Linked DNA regions of Homo sapiens: regions 2, 3, 4, 5 and 6 are each linked to region 1. Evidence: promoter capture Hi-C in human tissues and cell types (Jung and others, 2019). All regions are on one chromosome and are shown on one strand. The core of a region is centred on a gene start or on the middle of the fragment in contact, and the rest is flanking DNA. Distances in the headings are between cores, read along the strand shown. Region 1 holds the start of AP1M1 (adaptor related protein complex 1 subunit mu 1). Region 2 holds the start of EPHX3 (epoxide hydrolase 3). Region 3 holds the start of AKAP8 (A-kinase anchoring protein 8). Region 4 holds the start of AKAP8L (A-kinase anchoring protein 8 like). Region 5 holds the start of WIZ (WIZ zinc finger). Region 6 holds the start of CYP4F3 (cytochrome P450 family 4 subfamily F member 3).

Region 1 (3,231 bases), core at 297-2,796:
GTTGCTTCCACATGCAACAGGCCAGGCAGCCACCTGCCTTGCACCTGGGATGGACTTAGGAGAAGGCAGAGGACCATTTCTAAAAGGTGGGGACAATCCCTTCTTAAAGTTTTCTCAGATCCTCTGGGGAAGATGCCTGGGTTCTAGTTTATGTCCAGCTCCCTGGTGTCTCTGGTCCATTTGTCACCCCTCCTCAGGGAAACCCTCTCTCATCCTCGGGCTGAGGCTGACTGTCTGTATAACACACTCGCCCCTCAACACCACTGCAATTGACATTTATTTGTGTTTTTGGAGATGGGTATCCATCTCCCCTACCAGCCTGTGAACACCGTAAGAACACAGATTGTTGAGCCCTGGCACATGACTCACACCTGTAATCCCAGCACTTTGGGAGGCTAAGACAGGTGGATCACTCGAGGTCAAGAGTTCGAGACCAGCCTGGTCAACATGGTGAAACCCTGCCTCTACTAAAAATACAAAATTTAGCTCGGCGTAGTGGCAGGTGCCTGTAATCCCAGCTACTTGGGAGGCTGAGGCAGGAAAATTGCTTGAACCCGGGAGGCGGAGGTTGCAGTGAGTGGAGATTGCACCACTACACTCCAGACTGGACGACTGAGCATGACACTATCTCAAAAACAAAACAAAAAAAAAGGGACTGTTTTTTGCTAAACACAAATCGACCCCAGGCTTAGTACCCTGCCCGGCATTAGTAGGTGCTCCCCAGATATCAGCTGAATAAACGAATGATTCTGGATCGGACTCCTAGACTTGCTACTTCTCTGTGACCATTGTGACCTTGGTCAGGTTGCTTCACCTCTCCATGCCTCAGTTTCTCCCTCTATAAAACGGCACTCGTGATCACCACTCACCTCACCTAATCCTTGTAACTCACTATCACAATGAACGTGGAGAAATTCCTACTGAGAGAAAGTGCACGATAAACAGAAGCTGTAACGCCCTGAGAAGGCGGGACTGGCTCGAGAGCACCCAGTCCCCGCCACGCCTCGCCACCCCCGGCCAAGGGTCGCGCAGCCCCTGGACGCCCTGCCTGGCTCCGAGGCCGGCTGCGGCCCCGCTTCTGGGTCCTCCACCGAGGCCCGAGCCCCCGGCCCCGGCGCCGGGGAGCAGAGGGCGGTGCAGTCAGTTACCTGGCAACGCGGTGGCTGCAGCCCACCGCGTTACGTAGCAACAGGGCGGGGATTACCCACTTAAGACCCCCGCCCGGTTACCCAGAAACAGGATGGGGCTCTCAGGTGAGGTCTACCGGCCTCTCTGCCTCACACCAGGATGGGGCTCATAAGCCGGTTACCTAGCAACAGGGTGGGTCCCCGCGGGCGGAGGCCCCTGCCGGTTGCCTGGCAACAGGGAGGGTGGGGAGCCCTCAGTACCTTGCCCTTCAGGTCCAGCACGTAGACGGCGCTGGCGGACATGATGGCTGCAGGAGGCCTCGGCAGCGGCCGAGGGCGGTGGCGGCGGCAGCGACGGTGGGGACTGCTGGGCGTTGAGCAAGGCCGGGCGCCGCCCGCGACAGCTCACCTCCACTTCCGGTTCGGGGAGCCGCGCGGGGACCGTTATGTCCGGTCCGGGAGGTGCTGTCAGGAATGCGCAGGCGCAGGACGGACTGTGCGCAGGCGCATTACGTCGTATGTAACCATGTTTCTTGCTCCCGCCAGAAGCATCCCGGAAGTAAGGCCCGGTGGGGCGGGGCCGACCAAATCAGGGCACCCAGTGGCCGCTGCCAGGCTGAGCTATGGAGCCAGAGCAGCTGGAAACGGCCTCCCGTGGGCCGAGTTAGGCGAGAGAGCCTGGTGGTGAAACCGACCTGGGGCCCAGCCCTATGGAGCTCACAGTCTGGTGGGGAAGTCTATGAAACAAGTGTACAGTCACCAATTGTGATAAGCTCAAAAGAGAGAGGTAAGGTCGTGGTTACTTGGAAAGAGGTCAAACAAACTTTCTGAATGGCAATCAAACCTTATCAACAGTCACCACCTGTCATTGTCAACATTTATCAATGAATGAGTGTGCCTGTTTATTGCCTGGAATGTTATGAAAACCAGCCTCACTGAACCTTGACCCAACATACCGTGTTTCATTTCTGCAAAGTTAGTAATCAGTAATGCAACTGGTGGCCCTTGATTAATCCATTGAGTCATATTTAATTTGCTTTTATGAACTCTTGGGCTTTGGAGAAATGCCTGCATTCTGTTCCAGTTAGCCATCATAGTACCCTGGGGATCCCAACCCTGCAATACCAGAGTGATTTACCCAGGATGCCTGCCTCTCACATCTTTTATTTTCTGTCTTATCTCCGTTTTGGCGTTTGGAAAGATGATTTTTGCAACTCGGTAATTATATAGTGTTTTGCTTAGGAAAGAAATGTGACCGAAACTCTAGAGAAGCAAACTAGAATGTTTGAAGACTGCTAAGTGACTCCTGGGCTGGAAGGATTCTTGCTCAAGGCACAGAGCAAGCAGCCAAGAGAGGGTTTTTGTTGTTTGCTTTTTTTTTTTTTTTTTTTTTTGAGATGGAGTCTCACTCTGTCACCCAGGCTGGAGTGCAATGGCATGATCTCGGCTCACTGCAACCTCTGCCTCCTGGGTTCAAGTGATTCTCTTGTGTGTCAGCCTCTCAAGTGGCTGGGATTACAGGCATGTGCCACCACACCTAGCTAATTTTTGTATTTTTAGTAGAGACGTGGTTTCACCATGTTGGCCAGGCTTGTCTCAAACTCCTGACCTCACGTGATCCACCCACCTCGGCCTCCCAAAGTGCTGGGATTACAAGGGTTAAGTTAAATATTAAAAGATAAGAGAGCCAGTGCCCTTATACAAAGGCTGGGATGTAACAAAAGCCCACCCAGAGTTGTGCCTAGGCCTTTCCTGGGCCTTGAAGCATGACAAGATAATGAAGGAATTCTTAACAGGACCCTTTTAGGATTAAACAAGCTTTATTGGCGGTCTGAAGAAACTCCTCAGGCCTCCACAAACAAGTTTATTGGGGTTTGAAGGAACTCCCCCAAACCTCCATGATTTAGCAGGAGATAAGATAAGGGTAATCACCCCAGCACCTGGACCCACTTAGATTAAGTAAATTTACTGAGGCTCCAGAGGAAGGTCTTCAGGACTCAGATCTTAGTTATGGGTTAAAAGACTATAACTTACTTACGTCTTTAGATGAATGCACACCTACACGTAGACATATAGCTTAGAAGGTATATGAGCTCTGGAAGAC
Region 2 (3,231 bases), core at 447-2,946, 970 kb after region 1:
ATGGCTGTCCCTAAAATGTTCAAGGATATCGGGAGAAGGTTGCAAAATAGGAGGAAGAAGCTGGCTGCTTTTTTTTTTTTTTTTGAGACGGAGTCTCGCTCTGTCGCCCTGGCTGGAGTGCAGTGGCGCAATCTCAGCTCACTGCAACCTCCGCCTCCTGGGTTCACGCCGTTCTCCTGCCTCAGCCTCCCTAGTAGCTGGGACTACAGGCGCCCGCCACCACGCCTGGCTAATTTTTTGTATTTTTAGTAGAGACAGGGTTTCACCATGTTAGGATGGTCTCGATCTCCTGACCTCGTGATCCGCCCGCCTCGGCCTCCCAAAGTGCTGGGATTACAGGCGTGAGCCACCGCGCCTGGCCAGAAGCTGGCTTCTTGCAGGGACAGCAGGGCCGCAAGGCTCTGTGACTCTAGGCCCCATCACACCCGGCCCTGTCCCACTTCCTCTTTCGGCCAGAACCCCAGAACTCCAGTCATTCATAGGCCGGGTCCTCCTCGGGGGAACCAGGCCTGCCCCCTAGGAATCAGGGTATCCACGCCTCCTCGGCCCGCTCTCGGAGCCTGGGCCTCAACACCTGCAGATTGGCTCCCGGGCCAGGACCTGTCGCTTGAACATCAGTGGCCGCCGCCGTCCAATCACAGACGTACAGGGGCGGGCTGGCGGGCCTGTTGGGCCAGCAGGAGGACGGCGCCGGGCCGAGGCCGCTGGACCCGCCGTTGGAACCACAGCTGGGTGAAGTCAGTGCTGCTAGGTCTTTGGAGCCAGACCGAAGGGAGGGTCGCGCGCCCCTGGGTGGGTAGCACCAGGCGGCGGCCGTCGGCCGGGCCTCCCGAAGCCTCCTCCAGCCGCTAATACCGCCCGCGCCTCCCTCCTAGTCCTAGACCTGGCATTGCCTGTCCCTCTTCTTCGTCTTCCAGACCCTCCTGACCCGCCATATTAGGTCCCGGCCCCGCCCTCCGTCTCATTGCCCATTGCCCACCCCACCCCACCGCCCCCTCCCCGGCCTACCGTCAGCTCATTGGCCCAGGCTCCCGCCTTCTTCGCCCAATGTTAGGCCTCACCTCCTCTAGGATCCACCCTCTCCCCGCCCACCCGCATAAGCCAGGCCCACCATTCCAACTCTTTCTCCTTTTTGGCTTGTAGGCCGCACCTACTCTGCATATGCCCCGCCCCTCACTCCAGGTGTCGCCCACTTAACTGAAGATCCAGGATCCCCTCCTTAAGGTTTGTCTGGGCTCGGAATTGCCTTTTTTTTTTTTCTTTTTTGAGACGGAGTTTCCCTGTTGTGACCCAGGCTGGAGTACAGTGGCGCGATCTCAGCTCACTGCAACCTCCACGTCCCGGGTTCAAGCGATTCTCCTGCCTCAGCCTCCCAAGTAGCTGGGACTACAGGCGCCCGCCACCACGCCCAGCTAATTTTTGTATTTTTAGTAGAGACGGGGTTTCACCACGTTGCCCAGGCTGGTCTCGAGCTCTTGATCTCAGGTGATCCGCCCGCCTCGGCCTACCAAAGTGCTGGGATTACAGGCGTGAGCCACCGCACCCGGCCCGGAATTGCCGCCTTTAGACCCTCACCCACCCGCTGCTGAGTCTTCCTGGGCCCCGCCCCGGCCCTAAGCCCCGCACAGGACCTGCTAGGCCCCGCCCATTTATTTCCCCCCTTTCCAACCTCTTCCTCCCCAGCCTCCGCACCCTACCCTTGTTTCCTGTCCCTGTCGCGCCCAGGTGTTTACCTGGCACTCAGGTGAGTGGTGCGCTCTGGCTGTTTTCTGTCGGAGCCGCCCGCCTCTTCCTTCAGCGCGTCCCACAAATCCCGACGGCACGGAGGGGCCCCAGGCCAAGGGCGATGGGCCCCTGAGCCCTGACACCGCTTCGCCGCTGCTGCAGGTGCCCCTGGCCGGCAGCGCCGCCGTGGTCCCGGAGCGCGGCGACATGCCGGAGCTGGTGGTGACCGCGCTGCTGGCGCCGTCGCGCCTGTCGCTGAAGCTGCTGCGCGCCTTCATGTGGAGCCTGGTGTTCTCGGTGGCGCTGGTGGCCGCGGCGGTCTACGGCTGCATAGCGCTCACGCACGTGCTGTGCCGGCCCCGGCGCGGCTGCTGCGGGCGCCGTCGGAGCGCGTCCCCCGCCTGCCTGAGCGACCCCTCGCTGGGTGAGCACGGTTTCCTGAACCTCAAGGTGATCGCACGGGGGCGCTATCGGGGCTGCGGGGTCGCGTGGGGTCGAGACGGTTCAAGCCTCGGGAGAGAGGGTTCCCCAGGCTTCAGGCTGTGCCCTCCCCCTAGAGCTCGGGCCTGCGTCTGCACTATGTCTCGGCTGGACGAGGTAACGGACCCCTCATGCTGTTTCTGCACGGCTTCCCTGAGAACTGGTACGTCTGGGGCCAGGGGCCTGAGGCCCACGGGACTCGGGGGCAGGTGGAGCTTGGGCTCCCAAGAGGCAGGGAGGAGGGCTGTATAGATCGGGACAAGCTGAACATAGATGGGGATAGGGGTACTGAGCCAGCATACCCAGGATCCCTAGGCCCTGAAGGGACAGGACAAAGGGGTATTGAGGTTGATTGAAGTTCCCTGGATTCAGGGTGTAGCTGGCTTCAGCCTCAGCCTCTGCCTCTGCCTGGGATTCCCCATCCTCCTTTTAGGGGAAGTTTAGAGCAGGAAGGAGGGTTTGCCAATGGTTGCTGATGTGCGTAGGGTGCAGGTGCAACCTGAGGGCCCTGACTCAGCCTCCCTCCCTCGCCCGCCTGGCAGGTTCTCCTGGCGTTACCAGCTCCGGGAGTTCCAGAGCCGCTTCCATGTTGTGGCTGTGGACTTGCGAGGCTATGGCCCCTCGGATGCACCTCGGGATGTGGACTGCTACACAATCGACCTGCTGCTGGTGGACATCAAAGATGTCATCCTAGGCCTGGGTGCAGACATACCCCCATCCTAGGCGTGGCCTCCCTCATCCTGCACACACGCATACCCCCGCTTTCTCCTTGCTGGAACCTACTTCCCCCATCCCTGCTTCAGTCCTACTGGGCACCTCACTTATGCGAGCTCCTTGAATTCCCACAGGTTACTCGAAGTGCATCCTTGTGGCCCATGACTGGGGTGCCCTCCTTGCCTGGCATTTCTCCATCTACTACCCATCCCTGGTCGAGCGGATGGTTGTGGTCAGTGGTGCCCCCATGTCGGTGTACCAAGGTGTGTGTGGGAGTCCGGGACACTGGGATGTACTTATGTGCAAGGGGGC
Region 3 (3,231 bases), core at 405-2,904, 820 kb after region 1:
GATGGAAATCCTTCCAGACAAAATGGCTCTGGCATGCTCTGCAGACAGTACTATATTATACACCTTTCTTATGCCAGTGCAGAGATGAGCCCGATTTGAAGGGCTGCATGATGTTCTTTTGAATGTACGATTTATTTAACCTCTTCTGCACTGAGGAACGTTTAGGTGTTTTCCCATTTTTCACCACTACAATCAGTGTGCACGCATGTTTCCAGTTCTTAAATTTAGGATACGTTCTGGGAAGGGATTAATGAGACAGATTTTTACTTTTCATACATTGTGTCAAACTGCTTTCCAAAAAATACGGAAACAGTTGATCCTCCCACCAGCAGAGAAGACTCTCTTCACCCTTGCATGACTGGGAATAATTCTTCATTCTTGGAATTCTGTGGGTTAAAAAAGACGTTTCATTAAATATCTGTTCCTGTTTTTATATCTTCCCCGTTGGCCCCAAAGTGCTCCTTGCCTATTAGCCTAGTTGGCACCTTGTTACAGGTTGCACCCACCTTTGGCTCTTAGTTTCTTAATTGTTCACTGCTTATAGCTTTTTTGTAAGCAAATCAGATTTCTGTAATACAGCCGTAAAGTTAGAGATATATAGATCTGTATTTTTATTTACCTACAGTAAGTGTGGTGTGGAAGGAGAGGGAATTTGAACAAAGATCAGATAGGTTGTGGTTCCATGCTTGTGGAGTGGCCCTCCGTTGGTGGGGCTGGAAGTGCGTGGGTGCAGGGGCGGGGTGGGGTCCCTCTAAGCTGGCAGGGTCGGGGCAGCAACTTGTAGGGCACTCAGAGCAGCCTCTCCAGCTCCTTCTGCCCTGCCCGCAGCTCATGATGGAGCAGTCCAAGAAGTCCTCCCTCATGGTGGCCCGCAGTATTCTCAACAACAAGCTCATCAGCAAGAAGCTGGAGCGCTACCTGAAGGTGAGGCACTGGTCCGGGCCTGCCCTGTCCCCAGCTTAGTCCCCGCCTGTGCTCCCTCCCTTCAGTGTCCGCGCCCCTCCCCACAGGGCGAGAACCCTTTCACCGACAGCCCCGAGGAGGAGAAGGAGCAGGAGGAGGCTGAGGGCGGTGCCCTGGACGAGGGGGCGCAGGGCGAAGCGGCAGGGATCTCGGAGGGCGCAGAGGGCGTGCCGGCGCAGCCTCCCGTGCCCCCAGAGCCAGCCCCCGGGGCCGTGTCGCCGCCACCGCCGCCGCCCCCAGAGGAGGAGGAGGAGGGCGCCGTGCCCTTGCTGGGAGGGGCGCTGCAACGCCAGATCCGCGGCATCCCGGGCCTCGACGTGGAGGACGACGAGGAGGGCGGCGGGGGCGCCCCGTGACCCGAGCTCGGGGCGGGCGGAGCCCGCGTGGCCGAAGCTGGAAACCAAACCTAATAAAGTTTTCCCATCCCACCTCCGGGTTTCTCTGTTACTGTGCCGCGCGGGCGGGGCGGGGTGGGCAGAGGGGCGGGGTGCGCATGCGCGCGGGCCGGGCCGTCGGGCACCGCGGTGGGACCACAACTCCCATTAGGCCACGGAGCTGGATCGTAGCAGCCCGAAAGGCCAGCTGGGACGGCGAGGGCGGGCCCTCGTGAAGACCAGCCAATGGGGGCGCGCGGAAGTAGTGACGTGTGCGCCTGGTCTTCCAGTAGTCGATGGCGGAGGTGCGCTGAACGCATGCGTGCTGTGGTCGCCTAGTAAACGGGGCTGCTGGTGGGCCGCGTCGAAGACATGGACCAGGGCTACGGAGGTTTGTGTTGGCTGCTGGGTGCGGAGCGGGGAGGGAAGGCTCTGTGCGGGCGACGCAGCCGCTGCGCAGACTGCCGCCGGCCGGGCCTTCGTCCCGAGCGTGGTTGCCCCAGCTGGGCCCTCCGGAGAGGCGGCCAGGGCGCGCGCGCGCCGCTCATTGGGCTTTGGCGCCGTCGCTCCCGGGGCTCTGCGTGCGGATTGGCCGCCAGGCCCCGAGGAGGCGGGCGGGACTCGGGGTTGGGGCAGACGCCGCGGTGGGCTTCGTGGGGGCGTCTTAGACAGTGTGGGCCGTTTTTGCCCCTCACCTTCGGCGGAGTCCTTCCGGCCCCCAGCGACCCCGGGGTTTGCACTCCCGGCTTCCTCTTCCGAAGACGCCACAAAATGGCGGCGCTAGGGGGGCGGAGCTACAGCGTGGGGTTGTGAGGTCGGACCCGGGGAGCTGGGTCTGGGGCCGCGGGCGGACCGCGGGGGCCGCCTCTCTCCCGACCTGCCCTAGGCCCGCGGGGCCGTGTAGGGTCTCCGCTGGGCTCACGTGGCCCAGGGCGCCTGTCCCGGAAGCCGTCGGGCTGCGCGGGGTCGGGCCTTTAGTCCCCGGTGCAGCGCGGTGGGGCCGAGTGCTGCCGGCGCGAGAGTCAGCCTCGCCGGGCTCCAGCTCTGTACCCGGCGCGTGCTGGCTTGGGACAGGATGGTGAGGGGCAGATGCTGAGTGTTCGTATAAAGCTGGAAACCTGATGTGCCCTGGGGCTGGTGACATTGGCAGTTCTCCTTTAGGCAGTCTGTTGTGGTGGCCTGGAGGGGCCGAGGGGCTGTGCAGGAGGGAACGTGTCCTTTCCCCACTAGGATTTAGCGCTTGGCCTGCAGTAGGGCCGATCTTCTCGAGCTGCCTGCTCCCTGCTTCTGGAATCAGAGCCTTTTGGGAGCAAAGTTTGCCCACAGGGGATAGTTGGGACATGCTGGGTGGAGCTCGACTGGTTGTAGAGAAGCTAGTGGTCTGATCCTGGCTGCAGGAGCTCGAGAAGTTGTCGATCTTGAGAAGTGGCAGGGCAAAAGTATCCCAGCACCAGAAATTGCAGAGAGAGGTTTCGGTCCTGAGGCGGCAGCGTGCGCGGTGTGCTTTGGTGTCTTCCGGGTCCTAGCGAAGGCTCAGCCTGGCTCTCCTGGTCTTCCGCAGCCTGGGTAGATTTCACCATTCTTTCCCTTCTTTCCCATCAGATCTTTTCTGCAGGTATTGTATTCCTTCTTTTCATTCTTAGTTTGGAGAGGTTTTTTTTACCCCCTCTTCCTACCTGCCGAAAACCTTTCAGACACACTGGAGATAGTTAAGCTTCCCTGATTTCTTGTGTTTCCGGGAGCGTTTTAAGGTTAATAGTGCGTGCCACTTACACTAGAGCTTCACAGAGAAGCAGTCTCTCGAGGTTGGTTACTTGCTGTTGGAATCTGCAGTCTGCCTTTCTGCTGCACGGATGCGAATTTAGAAGGTTTTGCGGTATGACGGAGGGGAAGG
Region 4 (3,231 bases), core at 371-2,870, 780 kb after region 1:
AGCAAAGTCTCAGCTTTTGAGCCGTGGTCTCTGAGGGTGTTGGATGTGAACGAAATCAAATCGGTACAATGATGACTGTGGCAAGTGCGATGAAGGAACGAACCTGCAGGGCGCAGAAGACGTGTCCTGGGGCCCTGCCTTGGTTTGGAAGACAGGCAGGCATCCCTGAGGCTGATGGGGAGATGAACCCCGAAGCCAGAGTGCTTATCCGTCAGATCTCTGCTTCATGTTTGGAGTTTGCTCACTTAACACATCAGAAGTGGCTTTGTTCCGTATGGCAGCAAGTTCTGCAGAAGCCTCATTTGGGTGGGGGGAGTTTTATTAAAACAGTTTATCATGGAGAATTCCAACTATACAAAAGTAGAGCAAACAGTAAAATGGACTCTCATCTATCCATCACCAACCCATGACCAATGTCTTCAGCTGTCAGAGATTTATCTTATAGCTCCTTGCTTCCTCCTCCTCTCTCTACCTGTCTGAATTGTGTGAAGCACATCCTGGCCATAAGATCAGTTAACTTCTTAGTATTTCAGTATGTTTCTCTCAACGTTGTAAATGCCACTATTACACCTAAAGAAATCAACAATATCAAAAAGAAACAGCATACCTTAAAAAAAGTTTTAAAACACACGAAGCGTAGAAGTCGTAATTGCGCAGCTTAATGAGTTTTCACAAACACACGTGTTAAGTACTCTTCGGTGCAGCTCTGTCATCTCTAGAAATTATGAGTTGTCCCTGGCAGGGTTTCCATATGCCCAGGAAACAGACTGAGGACATGACTGGTGCCCGGCTGCACTATTGCAGGATCTCTCGAGCCCAGAGTGAATCAGGAGGGTTTTAGAAGCAAAGCTCCCATTTTAACACGTAACTGTCAAGGACCTTGAGCAAATCATGAGTTCCAAGCTTCAGTTTTAAGTGAGGATTAAAAGCTTTTTGCAGGTTTGAAGGAGCATTCGAATGACACACAATACAAACGGAATTATTACACATATAAGCATATGCCATATAAATATATTATCGTTTTGTTACGATTAATCACATTTATTCAGTGCACTGGCACCAGAATGATTTCTTTACACACACTTTGTCACGTAATGTTGAAACGTGTGTCCAGCATCTTGTTTGGTGCTGTTTTAATTTTCTCTTCTCAACATGGCTTTGCTATGCTTGTTTTGGAGCCGAAGGCCAGAGAATTTGAGAGACTTAGCTAGGTCCCCTACCCAGCACCTCGGTGGCGGAGTTGGCATCCCAGCCCTGCCCTGAGCCGTAGACCCGACTCCCTCTGGCGGGTCTCCAGGGTACGGGCGCTCCTCCAGCCCGACCATGCTTGGGCCTTGGGCCTTTCCGTAGTGCACAGCTCCGCCCCCTCAAATTCTATAGGACTCCGCCTCTCTGCCGGCTTCTGTAGGCCAATCACTGAGGCCTTAGAATAACAGAAGGCGGGGACAAGGCGGGGCTCTCACGAGATTGCCAGCAGCTTCCAGCCACTGATATGAGGAGGCATAGAGATAGACAGCGGTTCCTTCCAATAGACGTGAAGCCGAGGCCGGTATGAGCCAATGCGGTCGGGAGGCGGGGCTCGGGTGTGTGTGGAGGGGACCCTGTGGTTAGCAGCAGCTATCGCAGCGTCGGATGTTCAGAGCAGCAGAAGCCGGCGTCGTCGGATGTTGTGTTGCCCGCCACCATGAGCTACACAGGTGGGCCTGGCAGGGTGGGGTCGGGCTCTGCGTGGGGGATGGGACAGGGACGTGCGGATGCCGCACCAGGCTTGCCCGCACCTCCCCTGGGGCCCCGTCACTGCCTTCCCTGCGGTCACAAAATGGCGCCGCTGGCCCGTCGCCTCAGGGTCGCTGCCCTCACGCCTCGTTGCCTCAGCTCTCTGTGTCTGCAGCCGGCGTCCCGGCTCCCGGCCGCCTGATGTCTTGGCTTCTGTCGCCTGTGTCCGTGGGTCCGGGCCTCAGCGCACGAGGTCTCCGCCCCCACCACCTCCGTCCCTGGCCTGCGCTCCTGGACCTCGACGCCTTAGGTTTCCCTTTCTCAGGCCTTGGTCCTTGCGAGCAGGCAGCAGGCTCGGCTGCCGTCGCCATTGTCGCGTCCTCCCCCGCGCAGTTTCTCTGCAAAAACGCCGCAGCTCTACACCCCCATCCCGATCCCACCCACCACCCCCTTTTGTCTATTTCAGAACTGGGAAAGGCGCCAGGCCCTAGGGGGATAAGTAAATATTGGAAGGGTTTGGGCTGAGCGGGGAGCCTTGGGCCCCTAGGGGCTGAACTGCAAGGAATGACAAGGTTCCATGTTAATTCCCTCTGCGTCTGTCAAATGAACCGTGTCCGGTACAGACTGGGTATTGGGAATACAGACAAGAATTCCTCAAGCAGCTTAGAGGCGAGGATCTTAATAGGCAAATAAGCGAGTGTAGGATATATTTTAGGGTGGTCAGTACCGTGCGGGGGTCGCTCCACTACGTGGAGTGGTTGGAGCCTTCTGTAAAGAGGTGACATTTGAGCAGAGACCTAAATGGAGGGAGCGAATAAAGATATCTGGCCCAGGGAGCTTTTGCTGTAAAAGGCTTACGGGCAGGAACTGCCTGGCTTGTTAGAAGATCAGCCAGGGAGGCCAGTGGGAGGCCAATGGGATTTGAAAGGGAGAGTGGGTGACAGATCCGAGAGCCCCTCTCCGCCCCCCGCAATATGCTTGGGCGACTGTAAATCATCACTGGGTGAATTGCCAAGGCCTCCTGGGTTTGCCTTGGCAGTGACTGATGAGGCTTCTCGGCCAGGAGACTTACACTAGGCCTCCCTGTTTGGTGAGGGTATTATAGGCTTGAGCGTGTGTGGTTGCCAGGTAACCTGCATTCTACTTGGAATTTTGAGAACTGAGAATGCAACGTGAGTCTGTGGGGCTCCTTTGTAGACCACTTTATGTTGGCATAGGCAAGAAGGTAGTGCCAGTCCCCTCTACCCTGGCTGCCAGGTCAGGAGCTTTCCAAGAACCCCAGTTTTTCTAGCAACCATCCCCCAGCCCAGTGGGTTCTCATCCAGGGGTGATTCTGCCCCAGATGACATCTGGCAATGTCTGGAGACATTTTTGGTTGTCACATATGGGAGTGGGAGTGCTGCTGGTATCTAGTGGATGGAGGTTTGGGATGCTGCCCTGCTACGGTATACACAATGACACCTACCGCAAAGAAGTATCTGGCGTCAAACATCAGTAGTGCCCAAGTTGGGCAGC
Region 5 (3,231 bases), core at 317-2,816, 750 kb after region 1:
AGAGGGCCATGTACACAAGTTCTCACCAGCTGTGTGACCTTAGACCTTCATTCTCTTAAGAGCCCGTTTTCTTATCTGTGAAATGGACGTAAAGTTCCCTACACAGTGAGAGGACCCATAGTTAAAGGCATTCGATAAAAGGTATTCACCATTGTTATAGGCAGCACCTGCTTCTCAATGAAGCATGGATTCCACCCCTGGCAACCTCCCAATCCCACAGTGAGAGCATCTTCCTAGGCCCTCCTCATGTCACGGAGGCCATGGGTCTGGGAGGCGGATAAAGGAAGGGGGTCAGGTGTGGAGATGGTTGGATACTGTGTATGAATGATTGGGTAAATGAGTCATTCAAATCATGGGTGAGTGGATGGGTGAGGGGTAGAGTGGGTGGAGCAAACGGCAGACGGATAGGTTAGCATTTGCTGGATGTTTGACCTGGTAGGTGAGTAGCTGGGTAGTTGGTTAACCAGGTTGGGTATGTCTGCCTAGAAAAGGCCTGGTTCATAGTAAGAAAAAATTTTTTTCAATGTTGTGATTATATATATCATATGTACATATGTTGAGGTCTCCTGAGACGCCTGAGAACTGGGCAGTGGAGAAACAATAATGAACTAGACAGGACTCCTGGCCTCATGGAACTTACATGTTAGTGGAGGGACCAAATCAACAGACAAACTGGTGGATGGATGTTTGGGGGGCTGGGCGGAAAGATGTGTGTGGGGATGGTTGGGTACTTGCTTGGTTGTATGGATAAATGAGTATTTACTTGGGTGCTGGATGAATGGGTGGGTAGATGGGAAGTGAATGGGTGGGTTGAGTGGGTGTTTGGGTGAATTAATAGGTGGTTGGAGGGGTGGGTGGATAGGTGATTAGTTCATTGGATAGGTAGATGAGTGATTGATAGATTGAGGAAGTGGATGAGATAGCTAGGTGGTTAGATATCTGGATACATGGTGGATAAGACAAGACAACAGGCCATGATGTGTGTCTGATGGGGTAGTCCTGGAAGCTGTGATCCTGGGAACTGGGTGGAGAAGGTGACTTAGGACTGAAGACCTAGGGCAACTCTAGGGACATGGAGGTGCTGAAGTCCAGTGTGGATGATTGGGAAGGAGGGAGTGAGCTTGTGGTTGGAAGGTAGCTGATGGGGGGCAGGGGACAAAAGGCTAAAAATTGGCTGGGTGGAGTCTTCAATGACCTATCAATGACCCATCAATGACCCATGGGGGAACTTCTCTGCACCCTCCCCACTCTTTTAGTGCTTTTAGCGAGCCTACCATTGGAAGTACCAGTGGGACGATAAGGAGCCATTGGGGTGTGGGACGACAAGGGTGTTGTCATGGTAACGGGGCCTCTCCCTGGACTCAGGCCGTGCGGGCCCTTTAAGGGTGACCCGCTTGGCCACTCCCAACATGGCGGCGCGCCCGCTGGCCGCCCCCCCCGGGGCGGCGAGGGGGGGGGGGGTGGGGTGGGGGGGGCGCCCCGGACCTCCCCATCATGGCGGCGCGGCGGGGCTGTCGCGCTGAGGTCACGGCGGCGCGCCGGGGGGGCGGGGCGGCGGGGGGAGCGATTTAAAGGGACAATGTCCCCCGAGCGGTGGAGGCGGCGGCGGCTGCGGAGGCCGCGGCACCGGCACCGGGAGCGGCAGCGGCGGTAGCGGCAGCGACGGCCGCACCAAGGAGGGGAGCTCCGAGCCCCGGCACCTGGCCGGCGGCGCCGCCTCCCCGGTGAGGCCCGGCCCGGCCTGGGGAGCCCGCGGGTGGGGCGGAGCCGTAGCGGGGCGGGGGAGGCCCCGGGCCGGGCCGGGCCAGGCGGGACCCCCCGGGGCGGGGGCGGGGGCGGGGCCTTCAGGGGCGGGGCCTGGCCGGGGGCGGGGCCGTGCAGGTGGGGGGAGGGGCGGGGGTCTTGGGGCAGGTGTCCCCCCTACCTCGGCGCGTCCCGCGGGGTCTCCTGCCCCGGGGTGCACGGGCGGAGGGCTCATCCCCCGGACCCTGGACCCCCGAGGAGTGGGCCCGCGCGGCGCAGCCCCCACCTCTGCGACCCCTGGGGGGCGTCCGGGTAGGAGCCCCCTCCCCACGCTGCCAAAGTGCTCCGAAGTTGCGGTCCCGCCCGTTCCCCGCGGGCAGTGCCCACCCAGTGGACAACCGCAGGTGCTTCCTCCGGGCCTGGGTAGGGACCCCCACCAAGACTGCCAGCCCACGGAGGAGCCCCCTGGGAATCCCCAGGCCCCCGAGGGCAGCGCCTGCAACCAGGCCTGGCGCCCCGGCCCCGCCCCGGTTGCCTGGGCCCGGCCTCCCCACCATCTCCCTGGGGAGGGCGCCTCATTCCTGCCCTTCACTTTCCGCCGTTACCTTGAAGGTATTTATAGGTAGAGAGGACAACCCCCGCTCCCCAGGGTCCTCATTTCTGGACCAGGAGCCCTATCGTTTTCTTTCGCCCGAGGACTAGAGCAATCTTGGTTGGGGGGTGGGGGGAATGGAGGAGCCCAAGCTGGGTATGCATGAGGGATAATGTTGGGGAGAAGCGAAAGGGTTAATGCTGGGGTCACTTGAGGCTGTGTGTGTGGAGGGGGGTGAAGGGGTTAATGCTGGAGAACCCTAAGGTCCTGTGTGGGGGAAGGGTTGGAGTGTGGGAAAAGTGCAGGGATCATTGGTATGGGACAACCCAATGGAGAAAAGTAAAGGGGTAATGATGGGAGACTCCTGACGGTGTATAGGATCAGAGTGTACAAGTGGCTGGGATTCTTGCCGAGGAAACGAAGGCATGGCAGTAGGATGTGCGTGTGCATGGATGTGAGGGCAGGACTGGGGAAAGTGCAGCTGTGTGTGAATGAAGGGAGGCGTCTGGAGAAATGGTAAGATTGATGGAAGAAGACCAGGTGGCTGAGTGTGCATGTGTCAATATGGGTAAACTGAGGCAGTGCAGGATCTGTATAAAGGGGAGGAGTTATTGATGGGGAGACGGAGGCATGCTGAGGGTAGGGGCCATTGGGATAGAAGGTGTGTGGAAAAGGTCTGAACACCATTAGCTCCCCTGGGCTGGGAGGTAAACTGAGGCAGTGAGCTGCAAAGTTGAGGACTGAGGTTTTGAGGGATGGGAAACTGAGGCAGATTCCCTTTCCTCCATCCCCTAAGCACTTCCTTCTCTCTATCCCCAGGCCCACAATGCCCCGCTGAGCCGGTGCAGCAGCTGAGTGGATCCAAGCAGAGAAAATCCGATGGAGGGGTCTCTGGC
Region 6 (3,231 bases), core at 271-2,770, 560 kb after region 1:
GGACCTTCCCTTCTCAGCAGTCACTAGGGGAGCAGAGGTGACTCTAACTGTCCATCATGACAGTGGCTCCCACCTGGGAGAAGCTTCTGCACCAGGCTCTGTGCTAGTGCATCCTGTGCACCCTCCCACTTCACCTGTGGACACACCCATCAATCCTGCCATTTGCAATGAGCAGATTGAGACCACGTTCCGCAAAGGGGAGAGCAGGTCTAAGTCAGAGGGCAAGGTCTGGGGGAGGAGAAAGGTCAGGGAAGGCTTCTGAAAGGGGAAGTGAGTGGCCAACTTTTATGTGGGTTTGGCAACAGGACCCCATTGGGACATCTTACTGGGGAGGAACAAGATAAGAGGAAGGTGCCTCCGGATGTGGTGGAGGTGAGAGACAGCCCACACCTCTCCTCTGGCCCACCTATACCCTCATAAGAGGAAATAGGCCAGGTAGGGAGAGGACCCTGAACAGTGGGTACAGGAGGCCTCGAGTCCAGCAATGGAGAATGTGGGAACGCCAGGGGTTCACCTTTCTGTGCACCCAACCCCCTGCCCAAGAGCCCCGCAGAGGTGCATTAATGTGGAAAGACAGGCAGGAAAAGGATTCAACACAGGCCAAGAGTGGGAGAACAGGGAGGTGAGAAGGGCTTGGGTTGGCACCTCACAGAAATGAGTAAGCAGAGGAATGAGTAAGACGCCTCCCCTGCTTCTCTGCCACCCCAGACCCCAGCCCACCCCCTCTCACCTGAGCCTCATTCTTACCCCTCAGGAAGTCCATCCACCCTGAGACCCCAGACCCGTCCTGCTGCCACACTCACCAGGCCCAGGTGACCCAAGAACCAATTCCGTTTCGGGGGTTGCGGGAAACACCGGAGGCGGCAGCAGTTGTCATAGAAGGTATAGGTCCAGGCCAGGATGCGGGCCAGGAGCCAGGAGGCCCCAACCAGCAGCAGGAGCAGCCACGGGGATGCTGCCATTGGCCAAAGGCCCAGCGAGGACAGGCTCAGCTGTGGCATCCTGCAGGGCAGATGGGGTGGTGAGTGAGGTCCTGAGGCCCAGGGAAGGGCCCAGGGAGCTCCAGGGACAGTGGAGAGAGGCAGAGACGGGCAGTGCTGGAGATAGAACAGTAAGAGTAAACAGGGATGGATAAACAGGGGCTGAGGGGTAAAGTCCAGAAAGGCCCAGCCAAAACCAGCAACCAAGTGGCCTCCAGTTACCCGGTAAGCACTTAGATTGAGAAAGACAGAGAAACTGATTAAAGTCCAGAAAGGCCCAGCCTGAATCATTAGGACGTTGCCAGGGGCTTGGTTTCAGTTAGAAAACCACTCATCCTCCAAGCCAGCAACCAGGAGCTGCCTGGGCCTTGGGCAGCAATGGAGAATGTGGGAAGGCTGGGGCTCCCCTATGTGTGCGCCCAATCCCTTGCCCAGTGCCCATCTCCATCACAGGCTAGGATGCCCCAGGCCCACCACCCCCACCCTGGCACCTTCTGTCAGGAGCACCTTGTCCCACACAACCTCCTCTCCCCTTCTTCTGGGAGGTTTTTTCCCCTGGCCCCTGATGTAGGGAAGGCTGTGGGAGGCTAGGCTGGGCTGGGCTGGGCCAGCCAATCCCCACAGCCTGGGTGCCGCTCCCATGTCTGGGCAGCTGGCCAAAACCTGGGTGTGGGAGACCAGCTGGATGCAGAGGAACCAGCTCAGGGTGACACAGCACAGGCACTGGATCCTCAGGTCTCAGCACCTCCCACATAAGGTGGAGAGTAAGCCGAGAGGGGTCAGATAGAGTTTCCACTGTGTGACACCTGCTCTTAAAGAGCACCTACTGAGTGTGTGGCAGATAAAAGCATGAACTTGAGAGTTCAGGTGTCAAGCGAGCCAGGCCAGGCCAAGCCTTGTTCCAGATCATCTCCTGTGCTCCTCTCTAACCCTGGGCCGGTAGGACACCGTGTACCACTTCTGGATGCTGAATCAGGCAACCTGGAAGAGACAAGCCTCTATCCCCCTGCTGCTGGATGGAGTTCAAGTCTTGCCTCCAGGCAGTCCAGGGCCCTGTTGGAGACCTGACTGCTAGGAACGGGAACAAAGAATCCAGCCCCACTGAGGATTACCTGGGTCAGATTCTGGAGATTAAGAGCTCAGCTGGAAAAGCAAATCTGGAGGCCGGACTCAGTATAGGAGGACAGAGCGGGGACGTGGAGGGTTAGGATGAGAGGGAACGGATGGGGTCCAGGCAGGGGAAGGGCAGAGCCAGGGAACCATGAATGGAGTCCTCATTCTGCCTCATCCTTGCTCTGACTTTGGTCAGTACTGCCCCTCCTGGGTGCAGTCTTCCCATCTGGGAAATGGGATGTTCGATGAGGGCCTTAGCGGGGGACAATGAGGGCTCCTAAGAGGAGGGAGCCCCAAAAAGGAGTGAAGGGAAAGGGTGGCAACTAGCACTTGAGCTGCTGTGTGCCAGTCTCTACTCTGCACAAAGGCTGCATGGAAAGTACTTCTACTGTGTGCCAATACTCTAAATGAAGGGCAGCTACTGTGTGCCAGGTGCTAAATCCTGTCTACTCTGTGCCAAGTGCTTTCCATAAAGTGTGCCTACTGTGTGCCAGGTGCTCTACATTAACCCTGTATACTCAGTTCCTGATATTCCTCATAGAGTGCCTACTGTGTGCCACCTGCTCTACATAGTGAGTGCCTATTGAGTGCCACCCCCTGTATATGAAGAGTGCCCACTGAGCACCAGTTGCTGTCTACATAACACATGCCTACTGAGTGCCAAGTGCTCTACATAAACAGTGCCTACTGATACCACCTGCTCTATATGGTGACTTCCTACTGAGTGTTTCCTGATCTACATAAAGAGGGTCTATTGAGTGCTGCCTGCTCGAGTGTTGCCTGTGCTCCATAAAGTGTACCTACTGTGGGCTGCCTTCTGTACATAAAGGGTGCCTACTGAGTGCTGCTTGCTCTACATGAAGAGTTCCTACTCTTGCCTGCGCTACATAAAAAGTGCCTACTCAGTACCACCTGCAATACATAAAGAGTGCCTACTGGCCAGGCACAGTAGCTCATGCCTGTAATCCAAGCACTTTGGGAGGCCAAGGCAGGCAGATCATCTGAGGTCGGGAGTTCAAGACCAGCCTGGCCAACATGGTGAAACCCCATCTCTACTAAAAATACAAAAATTAGCCGGGCGTGGTGGCGGGCACCTATGATCCCAGCTACTCGGGAGGCTGAGGCAGGAGAATCTCAT

What was found. Contacts are between HindIII fragments. The study calls those that stand out against the background at their distance.
Region 2: a contact is called between the fragment with the promoter of EPHX3 here and the fragment with the promoter of AP1M1 in region 1, in 5 of the 25 tissues and cell types used here (H1 embryonic stem cells, dorsolateral prefrontal cortex, heart left ventricle and 2 more).
Region 3: the fragment with the promoter of AKAP8 here is called in contact with the fragment with the promoter of AP1M1 in region 1 in 4 of the 25 tissues and cell types used here (dorsolateral prefrontal cortex, mesenchymal stem cells, mesendoderm cells and 1 more).
Region 4: the fragment with the promoter of AKAP8L here is called in contact with the fragment with the promoter of AP1M1 in region 1 in 5 of the 25 tissues and cell types used here (H1 embryonic stem cells, dorsolateral prefrontal cortex, lymphoblastoid cells and 2 more).
Region 5: a contact is called between the fragment with the promoter of WIZ here and the fragment with the promoter of AP1M1 in region 1, in 1 of the 25 tissues and cell types used here (dorsolateral prefrontal cortex).
Region 6: the fragment with the promoter of CYP4F3 here is called in contact with the fragment with the promoter of AP1M1 in region 1 in 5 of the 25 tissues and cell types used here (liver, lymphoblastoid cells, mesendoderm cells and 2 more).

Annotation. Positions count from the first base shown.
Region 1 is chr19:16,196,226-16,199,456 of GRCh38, reverse strand. It overlaps AP1M1 (adaptor related protein complex 1 subunit mu 1), which reads right to left and starts at 1,546. Exons shown (of 12, transcript NM_032493.4): 1 at 1,389-1,546. The coding sequence starts at 1,430. RefSeq lists a silencer at 1,163-1,402. The HindIII fragment of the contact is 7,648 bases long and covers 1-3,231 here.
Region 2 is chr19:15,230,913-15,234,143 of GRCh38, reverse strand. It overlaps EPHX3 (epoxide hydrolase 3), which reads left to right and starts at 1,696. Exons shown (of 7, transcript NM_024794.3): 1 at 1,696-2,175; 2 at 2,283-2,368; 3 at 2,748-2,905; 4 at 3,054-3,182. The coding sequence starts at 1,933. RefSeq lists a silencer at 947-1,106 and an enhancer at 1,445-1,946. The HindIII fragment of the contact is 16,546 bases long and covers 1-3,231 here.
Region 3 is chr19:15,378,210-15,381,440 of GRCh38, reverse strand. AKAP8 (A-kinase anchoring protein 8) reads left to right here and starts at 1,654. Exons shown (of 14, transcript NM_005858.4): 1 at 1,654-1,728. The coding sequence starts at 1,710. It overlaps AKAP8L (A-kinase anchoring protein 8 like), which reads left to right. Exons shown (of 14, transcript NM_014371.4): 13 at 829-924; 14 at 1,011-1,391. The coding sequence ends at 1,319. RefSeq lists silencers at 1,029-1,518, 1,859-2,408 and enhancers at 683-1,597, 1,369-1,663, 1,598-2,513. The HindIII fragment of the contact is 19,214 bases long and covers 1-3,231 here.
Region 4 is chr19:15,417,377-15,420,607 of GRCh38, reverse strand. AKAP8L (A-kinase anchoring protein 8 like) reads left to right here and starts at 1,620. Exons shown (of 14, transcript NM_014371.4): 1 at 1,620-1,697. The coding sequence starts at 1,685. It overlaps WIZ (WIZ zinc finger), which reads left to right. Exons shown (of 13, transcript NM_001371589.1): 13 at 1-630. The HindIII fragment of the contact is 22,741 bases long and covers 1-3,231 here.
Region 5 is chr19:15,448,291-15,451,521 of GRCh38, reverse strand. WIZ (WIZ zinc finger) reads left to right here and starts at 1,566. Exons shown (of 13, transcript NM_001371589.1): 1 at 1,566-1,724; 2 at 3,155-3,231. The coding sequence starts at 3,215. MIR1470 (microRNA 1470) reads right to left here and starts at 1,974; the gene lies at 1,914-1,974. RefSeq lists silencers at 1,542-1,671, 1,722-1,841, 2,192-2,301. The HindIII fragment of the contact is 11,591 bases long and covers 1-3,231 here.
Region 6 is chr19:15,639,186-15,642,416 of GRCh38, reverse strand. It overlaps CYP4F3 (cytochrome P450 family 4 subfamily F member 3), which reads right to left and starts at 1,520. Exons shown (of 13, transcript NM_000896.3): 1 at 1,472-1,520; 2 at 804-1,002. The coding sequence starts at 1,001. The HindIII fragment of the contact is 9,363 bases long and covers 1-3,231 here.